Regions from separate parts of the Homo sapiens genome. Here regions 1, 3 and 4 are each linked to region 2. Evidence: promoter capture Hi-C in 16 types of primary human blood cells and fetal thymus (Javierre and others, 2016). All regions are on one chromosome and are shown on one strand. The core of a region is centred on a gene start or on the middle of the fragment in contact, and the rest is flanking DNA. Distances in the headings are between cores, read along the strand shown.

What was found. Contacts are between HindIII fragments. The CHiCAGO score rates a contact against its expected background, and 5 or more counts as called.
Region 1: a fragment that was not itself captured here is called in contact with the fragment with the promoter of LINC00692 in region 2 in 1 of 17 cell types (naive CD4 T cells); the score reaches 5.5 in naive CD4 T cells.
Region 3: a fragment that was not itself captured here is called in contact with the fragment with the promoter of LINC00692 in region 2 in 1 of 17 cell types (total B cells); the score reaches 5.2 in total B cells.
Region 4: a contact is called between a fragment that was not itself captured here and the fragment with the promoter of LINC00692 in region 2, in 3 of 17 cell types (activated CD4 T cells, non-activated CD4 T cells and total B cells). The highest score is 8.1, in activated CD4 T cells.

The regions. Positions count from the first base shown.
Region 1 is chr3:25,586,419-25,589,363 of GRCh38, forward strand. All of the region lies in intron 5 of RARB (retinoic acid receptor beta), which reads left to right. Among named protein-coding and RNA genes, the nearest start is that of TOP2B, 77 kb to the right of the region's middle. The HindIII fragment of the contact is 2,938 bases long and covers 1-2,859 here.
Region 2 is chr3:25,872,178-25,875,001 of GRCh38, forward strand. LINC00692 (long intergenic non-protein coding RNA 692) reads right to left here and starts at 1,518. Exons shown (of 8, transcript NR_034055.1): 1 at 1,464-1,518; 2 at 138-305. LOC124909357 (a long non-coding RNA gene) reads left to right here and starts at 1,601. Exons shown (of 2, transcript XR_007095849.1): 1 at 1,601-1,826. The HindIII fragment of the contact is 8,581 bases long and covers 1-2,824 here.
Region 3 is chr3:25,567,451-25,570,431 of GRCh38, forward strand. It overlaps RARB (retinoic acid receptor beta), which reads left to right. Exons shown (of 8, transcript NM_000965.5): 4 at 2,308-2,468. Among named protein-coding and RNA genes, the nearest start is that of TOP2B, 96 kb to the right of the region's middle. RefSeq lists an enhancer at 864-1,365. The HindIII fragment of the contact is 3,344 bases long and covers 1-2,981 here.
Region 4 is chr3:25,611,660-25,614,882 of GRCh38, forward strand. It overlaps TOP2B (DNA topoisomerase II beta), which reads right to left. Exons shown (of 36, transcript NM_001330700.2): 28 at 856-1,050. Among named protein-coding and RNA genes, the nearest start is that of TOP2B, 52 kb to the right of the region's middle. The HindIII fragment of the contact is 469 bases long and covers 1,157-1,625 here.

The DNA.
Region 1 (2,945 bases), core at 141-2,640, 290 kb before region 2:
AAAGGGGGATTTAGTGAATATTTGTGAATGGATGAATGAGCAAATGAATTAAAAGTCAAAATTCAAATCCCAGCATATATGCTGCTTTTGGAATATCACGCCTGTTAAGGCTTCAAGATTTAATGTCTTTCCCTACAAGACACACGGCTTCCTGAGTCCTGCCACCCACTGCCCTTACTGCCCCCAAGGAAAATATTCCCATGCCAGTCACAGCAGCACCCTCCTTCTGGTGACGCAAAAGTGACGGCCTGTGTGACTTCAAAATGTGATTTGTGGCTCCTTGACGCCCTGGAGACTGTGCAGCTGTATAGCCATGGAGGGCCGTTCCCATGTGAACCTGTCCCTCCCTCTCCCCTTCCTGGGGACTCAGTAGAGACAAGAGCCCAGGCTGGTGGGGAGCGAGCTCTGGGCTTAAAGACCCACAGCCTGAGCTCAGGCTTCAGCGTTGCGCCTGGGCGTCTGTGCCATCACGAGGAGGCCCTGGGTCTCTCCTAGCCTCAGCTTACCCACCTGTAGATGTGGCACGATTACCCCATGAGGCACCAGGAATTGCTGTGGGGTAGCCAGTGTAGCGGTTAAGAGGGTGGGCTTTGCAGTCCAACTCCCTGGATTCAAATCCCAGCTCTGCCATTTAGGAGCTGAGTGAACTTAGGGAAGCTAACTGACCTCTCTAAGCCTCAGTTTCCTCACCAATTGAATAAGTAGAATAGTAGCTCCTCCCCATTCAGGTTGCTGGAATAAAGAATTGAGTTAATTAGTTCCTGGCACATAGTAAGTGTTCCTTTAAATAAGCTGTAATCATCAGTCTTGAGTAAGCCTAGGCTGCCTTTATGAAGTGTGGTGTCTGAGCTGCTAGGCAATAGCACCTGGGGCTGTGCTGTCTAGTTCAGCAGCTGCGAGGCAGCTGTGGCTCATGAGCACCTTGAAATGTGCCTGGTGTGAAGTGTGTATTGCAAAATAAACAGTCTTTTAAAGACTTAGTATTTAAACATGTATAATATCTCCTTAATGATTTTTTTGTATTGATTACATGTTGAAACAAAAATAATTTGGATATCTTAAGTTAAAATAGATTATTAAAATAATTCCATCTATTTCTCTTAACATTGCAAAACAATGGCTGCTAGAGTACTGGTCTGCAAAACAGAGACAGTAACGGTAACAAGGAACTCCTGCTGCTTCTAACATCTGTATTTTCTCCTCGGTTAAGGCAGGCTGGCTACAGGTCCCATTGGGGAAAACATTTTGTTCCCATGAGCTCATCACAACAGGCACTATATGCGCTGCGTGTGTCTTTGTTATTAGTATCACCACTTAAACATTGTTACTAGTATCACTACCTAAACATTCCCACAGGCATATGGGGATAAATTGTCGAATCAGATCAGGATCTGCCCACATGTTGCCAAACACAATCAGTGTAGAGTGACCAAGATGGTTGAGCAACCTGAGCTTTCTCCTTTGCCTGAAAACTGGGCAACCCCTTGATGCCTCCCTCTGAGGTTTACAAGATAGAAGAGAGTCTGATGAAGGAATTCAGTTTATTCATTCAATAAATATTCATTAACCACCTGCTGTATGGAGGACATTGTTCTAGATATTAAAGACACAACAGAGAGCAAGACAGGTAAAGAGCGGTCTCATTCTCAGAGCTCATATTCTAGAAGGGAGATAGGCCAGGAAACTCAGATGGTGACAACTGCTATGAAGAAAAGAAAACAGGGTGGTGGTTTGCATTGTGAAATACTACACAGCAGTGAAAAAGAATGAACTATTGCTGTGTACACTCATATGGGTGAATCACACAGAGAATATTGAGTGAATAAAAGCGGACACAAAAGAGAATATTCTGTATGATTCCATTGATCTGAAGTTCAAGAACTTGCAAAACTAACTTGTAGGAATATAGGTCAAATAATGGTTACTTCTGAGGAAGAGGTTTGATTAGGAGAAGTCAAAGGAGCCGGTAGGTGCTGGAAATATTCATATCTTGATCTAGGTAGTAGTTGCACAGATACATGGTTAGGGAGAATGCCTTAAGCTGTACTCGAGATTTGTGTGCAGCTCCAGGCATGTGTGCTATATTCATTATCTATTGCAGTGTAACAAAATACCACAAAACTTAGCAGCTTAAAACATAAGCATTATTATCTCCCGTAGTCACAGTGGGTCAGGAATCTGGTACTGACTTCATTGGGTGGTTCTGGCTCGGTATCTGTCATGAAATAGCAATCAAGACCCCGGCCAGAGCTGCAGTCATCTAAAGAATTCCAGAGGCTGGAAGCTCTCCGCCTCCACAATCGCTCATCACATTTGTCTAGGAATTTAGTGCTGGTTATTGATGGGAGGACTCAGTTTCTTCCTCTGTGGACCTGTCCGTGGGGCTGGTTAACTGTCCTCTTGAAATGTCAGCTAGCTTCCCCAGAGCAAGAGATTCAAGAGACAGCAAGCAAGAAGGAAGTGACAATGCTTTTTGTGACCTAGTTTCAGAAGTCACACACCATCACTTTCACCATATTCTATTTGTTAAAAGCAAATCATTAAGTCCAGGCCACACTCAAGGGGAGAGGAATTAAGCTCCACCCCTTAAAGGGAGTAGGATCAAAGAATTTGCACACATATTTTTAAACCACCACACGTTATACCTCAGTTTTAAAACAATGTTATTTCTTATTCCAAAAACCAAAAGGGTGGTGGGATAGAAAATAATGGGTTTTAGGAAGCATTTTCACTGAGGCTTTAGAGGAGGTGACATTTAAGCTGAACTCTGAGAAAAGAGCCATGTGAAGATCAGGGAAAAGCACTGAAGCCAGAGGGAAAAGCAAGTGCAAACACTTTGCCTCAGCAGTGAGTCATCGAAGCTTCACAAAGAAGACCAAGATGGCCAGAAGTTCATGAGCAAAGGAAAGGAGGAGTAGTTAAAGTTGGCAAGGTAGGGAGAGGCC
Region 2 (2,824 bases), core at 268-2,767:
GTTATTCTAGGGCTGCTTTTTCTCTTTATACAAGGTGGGACCATGCTTTCCAAATAAAACTCAGCATTCACTGACTTATAGAATTGTAGTTTTGAGAACCACGCTCAAACATTGTCAAAAAATTCTAGGGCATGTACCTTTTAAAATGATCTGTTGTGTTCTTTTCACTTTCCATTCTCTTTTGGTGCATGCTGCTGCTACTGTTTGCTGTTAAATGGTTGCTGGTTTCACTTCAGATGGGTGCAGGTTTGAGTTAACGAAGGTAAAAGCTAGGTCATTTGAGAACAATATGACTTTTCTGAAAGCTAAATCATAGAGAAACTGCCAGATATAAAAACAGATAAACTATACATTTAAAAACTCATTTTAATAAAAACATATTATGATAAAAAGATAATTCCAGTCTGTTTGATTCTAGAGTCTATTCTCTTAATTATATTGTTAAGCAACAAAATGGGGAAGGAAGCAAACTTAAGTTGAACTTTCTGAGCCTGAGTTTCATTTTCTATGAAATAAGGATAGTAATATCTCATTGAATTGCTGTGGGGACTAAATTAGATAATGTATGTAAAATGCAAAAGACAATCTATAAATGTTTACTTCTCTCCTGCCGTCCATCTAGCTCAAACTTGCACTAGAGGTGATTAGGTATTTAGAGTTCAAATAACTGAGTTGTGATGTCAGCAAAATCAAAATTAAGCAGACTGAATTTCCAGATGTGTCCAAATGTCAATGAAACCAATATTTAAGCAGAGATCTACTGGACTGCGCTGTAACTCCATAAGCCTTGAATAATTGAGGATTGACTGTAAACTGAGGATCTGTGTTCTGCATTATGACCTTGCATTAACAGAGACTAAACAATTGAAGGTTTGGAGGTAAGTGAAATAGCCTGGTGCCTGTAATATTTCAGGAGGAAATGCAACAATATAACAAGCAACACAAGTACTGATATTAATTGAGAAAGGTCTCATTTATCTCTCTGGAAAATTTCTCCCTTCAAATGCCACTTATCACGAGAGTGTGGATTCTCTGATGTATTTTAGTGATCACTCAGTTATCTTCAGTACTTGCTCTCCACCCTGGTCTTATAATACAGACTTTTCTGCGTTTTCAGTTGTTCCAGGCTCTAGTCACATCTCAGTTATGTGCAATAATAGTCATTGTGGAGTTGCTGCAAATCAAAATTTCCCAGGTAATACCAAGTCTCATTTAACTTCCAGAGCCATCCATCACCAAACATTTTATTGGAGAACCAAAAAGGGTGGAGTAGGGGAGCTGAGTGAATTTCTGAGTCTGCTGGAGTTGATAACTGTAAGTGTCATGGCCCCAGTATTACTAGCCATAGATAGAGATAATTTAAAAAATCATCCCTGTAACCCTAGGTACTGATTATCTATTGCTACATAGCAAGCCGCCTTGAAACACATGGCTTAAAATAACAATTTATTTTTATATCTCACAGTTCTGTGGCTTAACTGGTCTCAGCTTGGCATCTCTCTTGTAGTTGAAGTCAAATAGAGGCTAGGGCTACATTCGTCTAAAGGTTCAGTTGAGTTGGAATGTGGCATGGCTGGCAGTTGATGATGACTGTTTCCTAGGAGTTCTGCTGGAGCTACATGCCTGAACACCAACCAATAACCTTTTCATGTGGCTGAGACCTTTCATATGGCCACAGTCCTCAGAGACAGCATCCCAAGAGTGATCCTTTTAAGAGGCTCAGGTAGAAATTGCAAGGTGTTTTTACAGTCTTTTCAGAGGTTGGAGTGTCACTTCTGTCATATTCTGCTGGTTCAACAAGCCAGTAAAGCCAAGCCCAGAGTAAGGTAATAAGACTCCACTTCTTGATGAGGAAATGTCAAAGTCATATTGCGGAACAGCGTATTAGATAGGAGATACTATGGTGATCATCTTTGGAAGGTGCAATCTGCCACATCCAGTTCTTCTGTTCCAGATGCCAACAGAGCTCACCTGTATCCAGAACACTCCTGGGCTCTGGCTGGTTTAAATACTTTCTGCATTTACTGGTCAACTCAGAATAATTTATAATTAGTAAGATGTATAGAAGAAATCAGAAAGTATCAATTTTCATAACATATCATGATTCTTTCACAAATCAGACATTCTTGCATTCTTATTCTTGTTGCCAGTGTTTTGCTCCATATGACATTCACAATTCTGTATTCATGTGTACTTTGGCCACTGAAATCCTGTTGTCCTCTTTACCTCTGCGTTGACCTTTTTGTGTTTCAGATGCTTGACTTGCTCTTGATCCCTGGTACCCAAGACTTTCATCACCTCTGCTTTCAAAGTTTGGCCTCCAGGCCTTTGAACTACCTCTAATAACTGTTTTTTTTTTTTTTTTTTTTTTTGAGAGGAGTCTCGCTCTGTCTCCCAGGCTGGAGTGCAGTGGTGCAATCTTGGCTCACTGCAAACTCTGCTCCCGGGTTCACGTCATTCTCCCACCTCAGCCTCCTGAGTAGCTGGGACTACGGGTGCCCGCCACCACGCCTGGCTAATTTTTTGTATTTTTAGTAGAGACGGAGTTTCACCATTCACAGGATGGTCTCGATCTCCTGACCTCATGATGTGCCCGCCTCGGCCTCCCAAAGTGCTGGGATTACAGGCATGAGCCACCGCGCCCGGCAATAACTGTTAGCTTAGCTTCCGTAGCTGCTGCCTTTACCACTTGACGTACAGATAATTGATGCGAATGCAGAGGAAACCTGAATGTTTGGCTTTCCTATCTTGACCCCACTTCTACCCAGTCCTTTTTAGGTTTTAATTTTATTAACTTGCTCCCATTGGTGTCTCCTTCCCATCA
Region 3 (2,981 bases), core at 419-2,918, 300 kb before region 2:
TCATCTGTGTTGTAGTATGCATCCATAATTCATTCCTTTCTATGACAAATAATATTCCACCATAAGGACGTCCTAGATTCCACTTCCCCGTCATCGGGTGATGAACATTTGGGTTCTTTCCACTTTTCAACTGCCGTGAGTCACACTGTCATGAACATTCATGGACAAGTTTTGCATAGACACATATTTTCAGTTCTCTTGGGTGTACACCTAGGAGAGGAATTGCTGCGTCACATGGTACCTCTGCGTATAACTTTGAGAAAAACTGCCGAGTACTCTTCCTCGGGGCTCTGTTTCAGAAGGACCCTCCCTGCTTAGATTTGACTTTTTCACTAGCTAAGGAAGGCCATTGGCAGAGGCCGAGGAAAAGAGGGGGGTCTGATCACCTGAGATCCTGCGCACTCACACACAAGCCTTCAGGCATTCCCTCCCCTCAGCAGCCCAGACTCCATCCTCACGGAGAGCCACCATGCCGCCTCTGCCACCCTGCATGACCCCTTTCCCCCTCATTGTGTCTCCTTTGCCCGCCGGCTTCTTTGCATTCTCTCTGCTTTGAACCATGATACCCACTCTCACCCAGCGTCCTGCGCCGGCTGGGAGGGATCGGGTCACAGAGGTCTCGAGGGGCCAGTCTGCACTGGGAAAGAATACAGCTGAGGCTGCACTTCCCACTCATTTCACCAGTGATCTAGAAATTTTCTGAGCCAATGAGCAGTGTCATTTCAGAGTCCTGGGGGAAGGAAACTGTCTAGAAGGGTGTTCTCTTCAGACCTGTTGGTTTCCTTAGGAATAAGTAAGTGAGTCCAAGTGAGGAAGGAACTTCTCAACCACGTGAACTTGAGCATATTTCTTAGCTTCTCCAAGACTCAGTTTCTTCATCTGTAAAATGGGTTTAAACTTGCCTACCTGATAAAAGGATCAAGTGAGATACCGTGATACCATGTTCAAGGGACTCAAAAAAATGTTCCTGGTCTCCCCAGCTGCCCTCCCTCCTGGTTAGGTAGGAGTGGCTCGTACAGACACTGACTTTGTAGTAGGACTCACCTCCCTTTTTTCCTTTCTTCCCCCTTCTCACCCCTTGCTCTTTCCTTTCACCACTTCCTCTCTCCTCCTGCTATTGTCTTACTCTGCCCTCAGCTCCTACCCCAAATATGGGTATTCTCATGGTGTGGACCCAGGGAACTGCCAGTTCTCAAATCACCCGTGTGCTCTTAGGGAGGCAACTCAGGCCAGATCCTCTTAGGGCAGATCAGATTATGCCCTGGGTCATTTTGCAGTGCAGATTCCCAGGTCACAGTGGTGGCATGCACAGCCAGGCAGCATCCAGCCTGGCACCCGCTGGGCCCCAGAGAACATGGACTCCCTGGAGGGGGTGGCATGGTCTGTTTCGCCTGTCTGCCTCCCTGGGTTTCAGTTTCTTTCCTCGCGAGATCCTAGCCAGGGGCTAGAGCTTTGAGTTACACTCGGATTTGAAGTCATCCCAGAGGTCTGTGCTGCAGGAGGAAGCACGGGCTTCCATAGCACTGTGTCCTGGGCCCTGACTTTGTGCCTGGCACCGTGCTTGGCTCGGAGCATGCAGAGGGAAAGGACACACACCTGCTGTGGGTCCAGTGTTCCAGACACAACGTGGAGTCAAGTGGCTACCAGCGAATAAGGGAATGAATGGTTTTCCAGGCTGAAGATTTCATACTGTATCAATTATTATTTTTAAGTAATTTTATATTCCAAAACAGATAATATGGTTCATACAGAAAGTTTAGAAAGCAGAAAAACACGAAGGGACAAAAACCATCATCCTTATCTCCTCTCAGATGAGTTTCTTCAAAAGTGCCTGTCACTTAATTCAGAAAACTAAAAAGCAAAGACACCAAAATGTGTAGCTAGGAAATACTAATTATGAAGTAACGGGGCTTTGTTCAGAGACCTGACCCTTCCCTTACAATGTCACTCAGGGCATCCCATTTGAGGGTAAAGCTCTTGGAAAAATCCTTCTCTCTTCAAGAGATCCAGTCCACAGAAAAAGTTCTCTCACAACAAGCCAAGACTCTGAGCCTCCTGGGTGAGCCCAAGCTCTCCAAACAACTGACGGGCACATGCATATACAGAAAGACAAACCTAGCTCTCTGCCGGGGTCCCGCGGCTGCCAAATCCCTTTTCCAGGGAGGTGTGTTATTACCACCTCTTCCCACTGTTTCTGTCCCAAATATCAAATGAGCTTAAGGCAGCCTTGGGAGGTGGAACCTCCCAGCTCAGGAGCACAGGCCCAGCCTTCAGCGACCCCTGATGTGCCTTCTCTCTCGTTTCCAGCTGTCAGGAATGACAGGAACAAGAAAAAGAAGGAGACTTCGAAGCAAGAATGCACAGAGAGCTATGAAATGACAGCTGAGTTGGACGATCTCACAGAGAAGATCCGAAAAGCTCACCAGGAAACTTTCCCTTCACTCTGCCAGCTGGGTAAATACACCACGGTAAGAGATACTCCTGCCCCAGGCTGCTGGGAGTGTGGAAACCTTGTACGTGCATGTGTGCAGACACACACACACACACACACACACACACACACACACACACTTTGCACTGGGCCTGGCAGGGGCTTGCATGCTAGCCAGCTGGGGCTATGTAGTAGCCACTTCTTTCTGTGAGGTAGCCTTTGGGCGTGGGCAATCAGTGAGTAGGCTGAGTGCCGCCTCACTGCAGTCATGCACACATGCATTCACTCTAGATGCATTAACTGAGTATTTGCTATACGACAGGCTGTGTTCTAAGCCCTGGCAACATGAACTATTCAGTGCTGCTCTCAGAGACTTTGATCTGGTGAAGGAAACAAGTAAAGCCAGTGAAGCGTTACATGGGTCATGACGGACCTCTGTACGGAGGGACCCAGGGGGACGGGGCCTGATCTTTTAAAAACCCCAATCCATCTGTGAAATCCAACCAAGATAAAGAGGCCATCCCCTGGGCCAAGGTTTGCCTTCTGTGAG
Region 4 (3,223 bases), core at 141-2,640, 260 kb before region 2:
CCTGCTTGAGGTTAGGTCAACGCCATTTTTTTTTTTAATCCTCAATAGCACCTATCAGTGCCAATGACACAGGATGTGCTTGGTAGTTTAAGGACAAACACAAGTAAATAGTAAAAGATGACAGAGTACTTTGTAAGCCAAACAGACCCTTTCCCACTCTAAGTCTTCTCTAATGGATTATGATGTAGCACTAAAGTTTATACTTTAAAGTTGATATACTTATGGTTGGGTTTTTGGAGGTTTTTGTTTTGTTTTGTTTTGGCTTCCAAGATTTTTATTTTTATTTATTTATTTTTTTTTGAGATGGAGTCTCACTCTTGTCAACCAGGCTGGAGTGCAGTGGCACAATCTCGGCTCACTGCAAGCTCCGCCTCCCGGGTTCGCACCATTCTCCTGCCTCAGCCTCCCAAGTAGCTGTGATACAGGCGCCCACCACCACGCCCAGCTAATTTTTTGTATTTTTTAGTAGAGACGGGGTTTCACCATGTTTGCCAGGATGGTCTTGACCTCCTGACCTCATGATCCGCCCGCCTCAGCCTCCCAAAGTGCTGGGATTACAGGCGTGAGCCACCGTGCCCGGCCGGCTTCCAAGATTTTAACTTAGAAGGCAGCTGAGTGGAGTGTTTCTATTTCTCATTTTAAAAGCTGAATTAAGTAGCTCTTTACAATATGTGATCCTTTACCAATATGTTTTCCTTCTATAGATCAACTGCTGTCATAGAAGGATTTCCTATTACCATTGAAATATATTTTGAATAAAACAAAGCATGATTTAAACACGCATTAAAATTTTTTAAATTATACATATATTTCATTATAGAAATGAGTCTATCAATGACAAGAGGTATGTCATACCTTCTTCTTCTTCAGCAACTTTTTGCTGGCATCTGCCTTCATAGCTGTAATTTCAGGAATTATTCTTCTGCCATAAGGTGAGGGCATTGTCTCTTCCAACTGGAGTTTCTTCACCTTAGGTTTGCCAACTTTACCTTTAATTGCTTTTCCAGACATTCCAGCCAGAACATCTTCTCGTTCTTGAGATTCCACTTTCTAAAGTATAATCATAAGGCAGAAGGAACATAAACAACTTCTTAGAAAAGATAATCACTACTTCATAAAATACTGAAACAAATGTTATTCACTCAGTAAAGAATAAAGCTTTCCTTTTAACTTATCTAATTCAAGATTAAATAATGGAAAAAAAATAAAGAATTCTAAATCAGAAGACCTGGATTGTAATCCCAATTCATCTAACTAGTTTCCCATTTGTAATACGAGGGGGCAATAGTGACTAAATGACCTGAGAAGTCTCTGCCAATTCTTGGATCCCGTGATATATTATGGAATCAAGACCTCTGATAACCTAGTATCATCAAAATCCTAGCAAATCATATACAAAGGCAGTTCTGCTAATAAGTATGAAGTTATTTTTTTCTATTGCTTTAGTCGTAATAGAAAATATGAAAAAAAACCTCCTAAATGTAAATTAAAGTCAGAAAGTATGAGAAGTTAAAAGTGCCAATATAATTAGATTGAACTCAGGCAGGTCTATGTAATGATAAATTAGGATATAATCATGATTAATATCCTAGATTTTGCATTTACCAGAATTATTCCTTAAAATAAGCTTTGAAAGGCACAAGGAAAAAATGACATTTCTTTAGAGATTTTTTTAAAAGATCTTTGTAGCACAACAGTTTAATAGAAATTACCCAAGCTTTGAAATCAGATAGTTCTGGATTTCAACTGCACTTCCACTTACTAGTTATGTATCCTCAGGAAATAACAGAGGCCAGTTGCAGTGGCTCACACCTGTAATCCCAGCACTTTGTGAGGCTGAGGTAGGTGGATCACTTGAGCCCAGGAGTTTGACACCAGCCTAGGCAACATAACAAAACCTCATCTCTACACAAAAATGCAAAAATTAGCCAGATGTGGTGGCACACATGTCCCAGCTACTCAGGAGACTAAGGTAGGAGGACTGCTTGAGCCCAAGTGGTTGAGGCTGCAATGAGCCATGATTGTACCACTGCACTCCAGCCTGGGTGACAGAGCAAGACCATGTCTCAAAAAAAAAAAACAAAAAAGCCAGATAATTTATAGAGCATCCACCATGTGCTAGGCATTTAAAAAATCCTGTGATCCCCATTTTATAGATGAGGAAAGTGGGTGTCTGAGAAGATGAGTAATTCTATAATGATATAATTCCTAAGAAAGTGACTTAACCTCTCCAAGCTTCAGGATCCTTATCTGTATAATACAGGTTAATGATAACCTCATTCATTTGAAGTTGTGGTGAGGGTCACTCTAAGCATTACATAGAAGGCTGTGCCAGTGTACAATAGATATTCAATTAATGTTATCATTAGACTTTAAATGATACAGAGAGACATGAAATTTAAGTCTAAATCTTTTTAAATGTTAAAAATAAATACATCCAGAATTTAAATAAGTTGTTTGGACCTATTTCATTAATTGTCAAATAATAAAATAAGATGATAAATTAAAAGTGAAAGAGTATTTTTTGCTAGGGTTGTTTTGAATGACGACTTTTCAATAGTGAGGAAATGTACAGGCATAACCACAAAAGTTTCCTGTGTTTCACTATATTAGTGACCAAATTTAAAGCAATATCAGGATATCAATAATATTAGGAATAATTTTTCTTTTAATATATGATGGCTTCATTTTTAATGAATAATTTTTAAATAAATTATAACTCAGCAGGAAACAATGTGCAAAAAAACTAATTAATGAACAATATACGGAAAGCACAAAAAAAGGAAGACTCACATTGCAGCACTTGAAAGATCGTTGAGGGAGCCTAGAAAAATAGCACTAAAAAATTCTAAATTCTTTTAGGCAGCTAATTTACCACACTTGTTCTTAAGAGTTCTAATTCTGACTTAGACCACTGAAGTAAAAGTAGAGCATGTAGACAATAAATCAACAAAGCAACTTTAAAAAAAAAAAGTAGTATGAGTAATAAATGGTATTTTACATTTTGCTACTCAAAAATCAGGTATTCATAATGCTACCATTAATTCCAATATTTTAATTGGGCAATTTTAGAAAAGGTGTGCTTTTTATATCTCTACATTTTTTTTATTTTTTAAATTAGAATTCTACTTGGAAAAAACTATGTTATAACAATCAAATATTGAAATGTCTGTTATAAATGTAGAGACTATCATTCTACTCCTAAAATCAAAGTACTTACATT